Linked DNA regions of Homo sapiens: region 1 is linked to region 2. Evidence: promoter capture Hi-C in 16 types of primary human blood cells and fetal thymus (Javierre and others, 2016). All regions are on one chromosome and are shown on one strand. The core of a region is centred on a gene start or on the middle of the fragment in contact, and the rest is flanking DNA. Distances in the headings are between cores, read along the strand shown.

Region 1 (3,923 bases), core at 353-2,852, 290 kb after region 2:
AATAATAATAATAATAATAATACCAGCTAACATGTACTAATACTTACTGTGTGCTACCTGAAGTATTTTATCATCTTACCTAATGAAGGCAGTATAGCATAGAGAGCCAGCCAGACCACCTAAGTTTGACTCCTGGCTCTGTCACTTTCTAGCTAAGTAATTTTGTAAATGTGATTTAATCTCTCTGTGACTCAGTTTTCTCCTCCATATGATGGAAATGATGATAAGAGCACAGACTTTTTATGCCACAGACTTTTTATGAGGACTGGGTGAGTTTGTGCGTAAGCCTCAGTAAAGCTTAGAACAGGTTTGGCACATAGCAACACATAACCCATGCTTGCTATCATTACTTCATTTAAAAACACAAGTTACTGCCACACCCATGGCAGTTATTTTCTCTTTGCCAAGAAGAACCCTAATTTTGTTCAGACAGCAATGAACCCAAGCCTGGTGGAAGCTATCGTTGGGCCAAGCCAAATGGCAGCTCCATTCCCTATTGCCAGACACTGGCTTTCCTAACCCTTAGAGCTGAGGGTGGTCATGTGGCCCAGTCCTGGGCAGGGAGATGTGAGAAGTCCACTGGAAGGATTTCTGGGAATAAGTTTCCTCATTGATAACAGAAGCCTCTTGAGGAGAACCCGTTTGCCCTCTTCCCTCACTTCCTCCTCTGGAATACAGTTGTGTGATCTCATCATGCATAGACTCGTGGCAACCGTTCTGTTTCCATGAGATTCAAGATGAAGGATACAAAGCAACATGCTAAGATTGGTGCAGGGGAAAGAAAAGAGATTCTATGTTCCTGGAGACACCACTGAGCCGCAGACCTTCAACTTTTAAACATTTTACTAAGTTAACAATAGTTGTCATGGTTTAAGCCACTGTTGGTTGCGTTTTCTGCTACTTGGAACCAAAAGGAAGTCACTGTTTAAGAAATGACAATCACAACTTGTTGGAGCGGACACTAAACTGCAGTTCTTCCCCAGCTGCAGGGACCAGGACGTGGACAAATGCTTGTTCCTCTCACCAGCCTGGAGGACCCTGGCCACAGTCAGGATTTTGCAGCCTATTACAACAGCGAGCCTGGAAGAAAACAGGAGAGGAGGCTTGGACCTCATGAAAACTCTAGGGGCTGCTCTGGCTGAATGGAAATGGATTCTTTTGTGCTGGAAACACACAGAAATGGACAGGTCCCTGTGAATGGGAAAAGGAACCCTTTGAATGGCTTTCTTATGCTTATTGCAGCAAATGAAAACAAAAGAAAGACAGGCTCCGGAGAAACGTCCTCACAAAAGTGAGGTTAATACCCAGGGAGCCAGGCAGAAGAAGGGGGAAACAGTGCAGTCAGCCCCCTGTGTCCAGAGATTATTCTTTCTCTCTTTTTTTCGGGCCTATTTTCTATCTTGCCCTTCTCTCCCCTTAGGGCATAATCGCTAATGTTGCTCTCAGCCTATTCTGTCTAGTTTATTATGTGTAATTTATTTCTGAATCCCAGCCTCTGCTTGTTCGTCTGTGTGTAACAAGGTTAATGCCTTGTAATGATGCTTTTGCCAGTTCTGCCTTTCATGACAAAATCCGATCTTGATTTCGCTCTAAACCTTGTCTCCCCTTTGGGCTTTCTTGGTTCCCTCAGAGTTGTCACTCTGCTTCTCCTTCCTGCCGTGTCTAAGCATAACGTCACGCCTACACGTTTGCCGGCTCTAAGAGGGAAACTTTTCTCAGTTGGAGGAGAAAGCTACCTTGGCTCAAGCGATGTTTGGGCTGAAAGAGAGAAAGAGCTTTGGGCCTGATATAGCAAACTGGGACCAAAGCTCCTGAGGTGTGTGTGTGTTTGTGTGTGTACGTGTGTGTGTGTGTGTGTGTGTGTGTGTGTGTGTGTGTGTGTGTGCAGGGAGTCATGGGCATATCATGAGGAAAACAATTAGACTTCTTTGCAGCTGCTTCATATGATTTTTCATGGACAATAAATACTCTCCCATTGTGCCCTGCACAACTGCAGGGGGTGCCAGTCATGCATTCCAGGGTGTGAAAGGCACCCTCTAGAGCTGAGCCACAGCTTGGCCCTGCCCCTACCATGTGAAAGATGGCCCGGCTCATCGAGGCAGGGTGCTCACAGCCATGCTCCAGCTTTTGCGGCATCATCGGGAGGGAATGGGCACAAAACTGGGGCCTCCAATGTTGAGCACCAAGCAAGAGTCAAGTGTTTTACCCCCAAGGTGCTAAAAGGATTCCTGTATGTTGATTTTACCTTACCAGGTGGGAGGAAATACCAACTGGGTACCTATCAATTTCTTGTACATGACAAAATGCCTTTCTTGGGCAGTTAATTTTATATTCTGTTCCCTTTGGGATCCCTTTGTTTTGAAGCAGTTTCATCATTTTCTGTTACTTCCCAAGGGGCCCACTTGCCATTAGGAAACCCCTGAAGGAGCCCTGCACCCAAGTTCTGGCCCCTGCTCTGTGCCTTATAGACTGCTTGATTCCAGCAAGTTAAGTCTCCTGAACCTCAGTGACTGTATCTGTAAAATGGACCTAATAATACCACATGCCCTGCCTCTCAGTGTTGTTGTGAGGTCCAGATGAAATCATGTGTTTGAAAATAATTAGATTACTTTTATTCAGCTAAGGAGATGGAAAGGACAACTATTTGCCCAAGTCGGACAGTGATTTTATTAGCTAGGAAGGCTCGGGTTGCTTTTCTCCATTCTAGTGTATACAGTGTTGACCGGGATCTGACTAAGTTATGGCAGCTCTCTGATCGTCTGAAGGAAGAATTTACACTGGGGACTCAAATGACCAAAAGGAGAGGTTCAAAGTGTGCTTAGGGACACAGCTGGGCAGCCTCTAGACCAGAAAACATCACTGGTGTGCAGCACAGCCGTGGGAAGCATGCAAGGTGGTGAAGCTTGTATTTCACCTCCTTCTACCCTCTCCCCTCCCTCGACGGGCCCCAGTGTTCCCAGCCACCCAGGCCAACCCACCAGCAAAGTCCCACTCTCCAAGATTCATCCTTCCTTCTTCCCGCTTTATGTCCCTTCCCCACCCCCACAACCTCCTTCTCCTCCCTATGGCTAATTTCAGTCAATTACTTATAAAAAGACGACCTGACTCAAATAATTTACAAAAGTATATGAATGGCAGATAGCGTGAAACTGCATTTTCCTAGATTCTTTTTTTTATTATTATTATTTTGAGACAGAGTCTCACTGTGTCGCCCAGGCTGGAGTGTAGTGGCACGATCTCGGCTCACGGCAACCTCTGACTCCCGGGTTCAAGCGATTCTCCTGCCTCAGCCTCCGGAGTAGCTACAGGTGCCTGCCACCATGCCTGGCTAATTATTGTATTTTTAGTAGAGATGGGGTTTCACTATGTTGGCTAGGCTGGTCTTGAACTCCTGACCTCATGATCCGCCCACCTTAGCTTCCCAAAGTGCTGGCATTACAGGTGTGAGCCACCGCACCTGGCCCTAGGTTCTCAGAATTGAAAGAGACTCAGTCCACCAGTGCTTGTCCAGGAGGAAACAACTGGCATTCTACATGGGATGGCTCCTCATTATGGGAGCTGTCCTGTGTGATGCGGGACTTCTAGCATTCCTGACTCCTGTCCACAAAGCAGTGCCCTCTATTATGTTGACTACTGTGAAAGTCTCTCCCCAACATTTCTCAACATCCCCTAAGTAAATGTCATTATCCCCTGTTAAGAACCACTGAAATCTGTGACATGGTTTCAGAGGTGCTGACAAATGGTTATCTAGACTTTTCTTCCCTCTGGTCCTGCTACCCATCATGGTCAACAGCACCACTAATCACCCTCAACTCTTCTCTTTCTGTCACTCCCCACATCCAATACATTAAAAATCTCAGTCGAATTTCCCAATAATCTCAAATTCACCTTCTCTATCTCTACAGGCTCTATTCAGCCCAAGT
Region 2 (4,074 bases), core at 647-3,146:
TTAATGGGTCAAGAGTATTCCATTGCATGTACCAATCATAATTTTCTTAACTAGTGTCCTAGTGATGGACACTTGTTTCTAGAAGCATTATTTTTAAAAAAGGTGGCAAATAGTATCCTTATGAATCCCTTATTTTCCTTAGGGTATATGCCTCGGAAATGAGACAGCTGTGGGGCAAAGGCTAATGCATATGTTAAATTTTGGTAAATAGGGTTGTACCAATTTCACCTTCACACCAAAAATGCCTGACAGTAATTGTATCCCACACCCCTATCAACAATGATAGACAAAAAACAACTGTTTGGAAGTGGGACAACTTTCCGTTTGTTAATTGAATATTTGTTTTTCTTGGCTTTTTGTATTTTTAATAGATGGGATTTCACCATGTTGGCCAGGGTCGTCTCGAACTCCTGACCTCAGGTGATCCACCTGCCTTGGCCTCCCAGCGTGCTGGGATTACAGGCGTGAGCCACCGCCATTTCCCGAATGATCTTTTTCCTACTGACCAATAATTTGTCATGTATAGTTTACTGGCTACCACAGAGATTTCTGGAGTTGTCTGGCTCCAGCGTTTAAAAGTAATGGTTTTGGGCAACTCTGTGAAATGGAGATAACAATTGCACCTACCTTACAGAAATGTTAGAGTTAAATAAGATAACCTGAAAAAGTACTCCAGTACTTGCCACACAAATGCTCAGCAAATGTGAGCTACTGTTATTATACTAAACACGCACACATACATGAGAATTTCTGGATTCTCTATTCTATCTCCCATGTCTCATCTATGTAATCCATCCAGCAACATTCCATTACCAACTCGCTGTCCTTTTTTTCCCTCCTCTTAAGAGACACGGTCCTTTCTAATGGCCCGTTTTCCCTCATTTCAACAACAACAAAATCACCTCTCAGTTGTCCAATAATAACTACAGCCTGAAAATCATAATCTTGGGGGTAAAAATAAGCTGTACTTCACAAAGCAGTGAGAATCAAAGCCCAACCAAGGCACTGAACAAACGCTGGGGATGGGAAGGTGTCTGTTTCTTCCAACACGTATTTTGAAAGGCTGACCGCCTACTTTGTTTCAGACTTTGGATGATCATGGAAGTTCTCAAAAGCTAGCAACTCCTCTTCCAACTATTGTTTACAGCCTTAAGACAAGTAGTTCCCCATGTGACCCCAGGTGGGCCCTGAACTTGGGATAACCAGGACAGGAGACTTGGAGCAGGAGGTGCGGGGGCGAGGAGGGCTCTCTCCCGGGCGATTGGTCCTAACCCGAGGTTCCCTCGTGGCAAGCTGAGCCGACTCCCCACTCGTGGGCTGATGCCCGAGGCAGACGCGGCAGGCAGGCGGCTTCGGGAGCGCATATCTGCACCCATGGGGACGATGGCAGGCTGGCGAAGGGAGAGAGGTGGCGGCAGGACTACCATTTGAGGCTCTCAAATGGTGTGGGGAAGAGGGAAGGAGAGGCGCGAAAAGGAGGAAAACCCCTGGAGACGCTGTGTCGGGCGGAGGCTAGGGAGACCGGCTTCGCGCTCCAACGACGCGCATCACTCAGACTCCAAGGCAAGTGCCCGGGGCTAGATTTTCCGTCCCCTGGGGCTCTGGGGATCTCTGAGTCCATCCCAGGGCCCTCCAGGAACGCCTTCGGGAGCGCAGCCCGGCCCCGCCGCTGCCGCTGTCACCCGTGGCCGCTCCCGCCTCGGTTCGTTTGTCTCCTCCCTCTAACGGCTCCGGCAGCAACCGGCGTCGGTGGCGTGGGTGACGTCGGCGTGGGGGGTGGGACTTCCTGCTTCGCGTGCCGCTGGGCCAAGGGACAGAGCCCGCTCCTCCAGGCTGGTGGGGCGGTGCGATGAGGCGGCTTCTGGGCCATACGTCAGCACGTGGGGTGGCGCCGCACCCCTGAGGATCCCGGTCCACGCGGAGGAGTGGGGCTTTTCACCGCCGCCGCCGCCGCCCTCGGACCTCTCCCGGGATACTTCACATTTCCCTAGGGACGGGAGCCCGAGGGGTCCGTTCGGCCCTCTTCCTCTCGCTGGGCCGACACCCCGCTGTAGGACCGTAACCCTTAGTCCCAATGCCTCCGTAAGCGGAGTTGAGTGGGTGCCTGTGGTTGGAGCTGTGGAGGTGTCCCCGGTGGCGAGCGCGGCCAGAACTGCGGTCACTTAAGTTTTCCGTGTGCGGGTTGCAAGGAGCGTGCGTGCGTCTGGTATGTAACCTCTCTTTCTGGGGACGGTGTCTTGTTTGTATTTTGGAATACTCATTTTGTCCCTCCACAAACTGCCCTTGAATCCTTTTTTTATTTTCCTGTTAAAGTAGTGGAAGCTCGTGCTAGAAAAGTAGGCAGAGAGACGCACGTGAAACTCTTCATGGAGCTTTTGGATGCACTCTGGCTTGGTGGTTGTGTAGCCAGTTTGGTAATTGGCCAGACGTTTAAGTACCTCCAGCTTAATTTACGATGAAAAAGCTATGCTACCATTTTCCTTGGCTTTGAAGACAATTTGAATGAACAGTGATGTCGACTGTCATTACTGAGATAAACACCTAAAATATGTTAGCATATGCTGGGTTTAAATACTTTGGTTAATCCTCAGTGTCCAACTTTTGACCATAATCAATGGGCATTTTGCTCTTAAGAATATCCACTGCTAAGTATTTGTAAAGCCTTTAGTTAGCTGAAATGAGGAAGCTCTTTCAAATCTTACAGATCTCTAGGATAAGGAAAGACTTGTCTGAATTTCGTGTATATGATATATACTTCATAATCTGTTCAGACTTTAAGCAGCTCTAAAACAGAGTGGGTTGTTAAAGCAGTGCTTCTGTTACCAAGCAACATGTCTGTAAACAAGTCTGACATTTAACTAAAACACAATTAAAGGTATCTATCCTACAGTTACCTGGATTTAGAATTTTCCATATTTATGAATTTAGCCTGTAAGTGGTTAGAATTAATACTCACCTTTTGTATTGAGGTTTGATTTCAAACTCAGTTTGTTCAGAATTGTTAGAATGCTTTATTTATTTATTTATGACTGAGTCTCACTCTGTCGCCCAGGCTGGAGTGCAGTAGCGCGATCTCGGCTCACTGCAACCTCCGCCTCCTGGGTTCAAGCGATTCTCCTGCCTCAGCCTCCCGAGTAGCTGGGATTACAGGTGCGTGCCACCATGCCCGGCTAATTTTTTTATTTTAGTAGAGATGGGGTTTCACCATGTTGGCCAGGCTGGTCTCAAACTCCCGACCTCAGGTGATCCGCCCACCTCGGCCTCCCAAAGTGCTGGGATTACAGGTGTGAGCCACCGCACCAGGCCAGAATGCTTTAAATTATAAGTGTCACACAGGACTCTCCTGAGAGTTGCAAATGGTTTTGAGTTGTCCTTTGGTTATTTAGGACAGAGTATGCTGGGTATTCCCCTTACTTTGAGTGTTTTCTTTCCAGATCAGATGAAGTGCGCGGACTGTATTTAGAACATTCTCAAATAATAGTGAAATACAATTTAGAATTCCATGCAGCACTGGGAGAATGAAACACTGATTATTCACAGGTAGTTTTTTTTTTTTTCTTTTTTTGAGACAGAGTTTCATTCTTGTCGCTCAGGCTGGAGTGCAGTGGTGGGATCTCAGCTCACTGCAACTTCCGCCTCCCAGTTTCAAGTGATTCTCTCCTCTCAGCCTCCCGAGTAGCTGGGGTTACAGGTGCATGCCACCATGCCCTGCTAATTTTTGTATTTTTAGTAGAGATGGGGTTTCACCATATTGCCCAGGCTGGTCACGAACTCCTGACTTCAGGCGATCTGCCCACCTTGACCTCCCAAAGTGCTGGGATTACAGGTGTGAGCCAGCGTGCCTGGCCTATTCACAGGTAGTTTTTAATCCTTGGTTTACCAGTCACCTCACTGTCTCCTCTTATTGAACCCTTAATGATAAAATTTTTATGGCAAGTTGTTAGTTTTTAGAGCACTTTTTGAATGATCTTTTCAATCAATAACCTTTCAAGTAAGCAAGTATGTGAGAAAATTTGAGACATGATGAGACTAAATGACTTCTTTGAAATCTATTAATAATGGGAATTGGAACTT

The links. Contacts are between HindIII fragments. The CHiCAGO score rates a contact against its expected background, and 5 or more counts as called.
Region 1: a fragment that was not itself captured here is called in contact with the fragment with the promoter of CEP83 in region 2 in 1 of 17 cell types (fetal thymus); the score reaches 5.0 in fetal thymus.

What each region holds. Positions count from the first base shown.
Region 1 is chr12:94,162,624-94,166,546 of GRCh38, reverse strand. All of the region lies in intron 1 of PLXNC1 (plexin C1), which reads right to left. Among named protein-coding and RNA genes, the nearest start is that of PLXNC1-AS1, 12 kb to the left of the region's middle. The HindIII fragment of the contact is 2,605 bases long and covers 300-2,904 here.
Region 2 is chr12:94,457,689-94,461,762 of GRCh38, reverse strand. It overlaps CEP83 (centrosomal protein 83), which reads left to right and starts at 1,896. Exons shown (of 17, transcript NM_016122.3): 1 at 1,896-2,206. It overlaps CEP83-DT (CEP83 divergent transcript), which reads right to left and starts at 1,760. Exons shown (of 1, transcript NR_027035.1): 1 at 1-1,760. RefSeq lists an enhancer at 1,430-1,479. The HindIII fragment of the contact is 10,845 bases long and covers 1-4,074 here.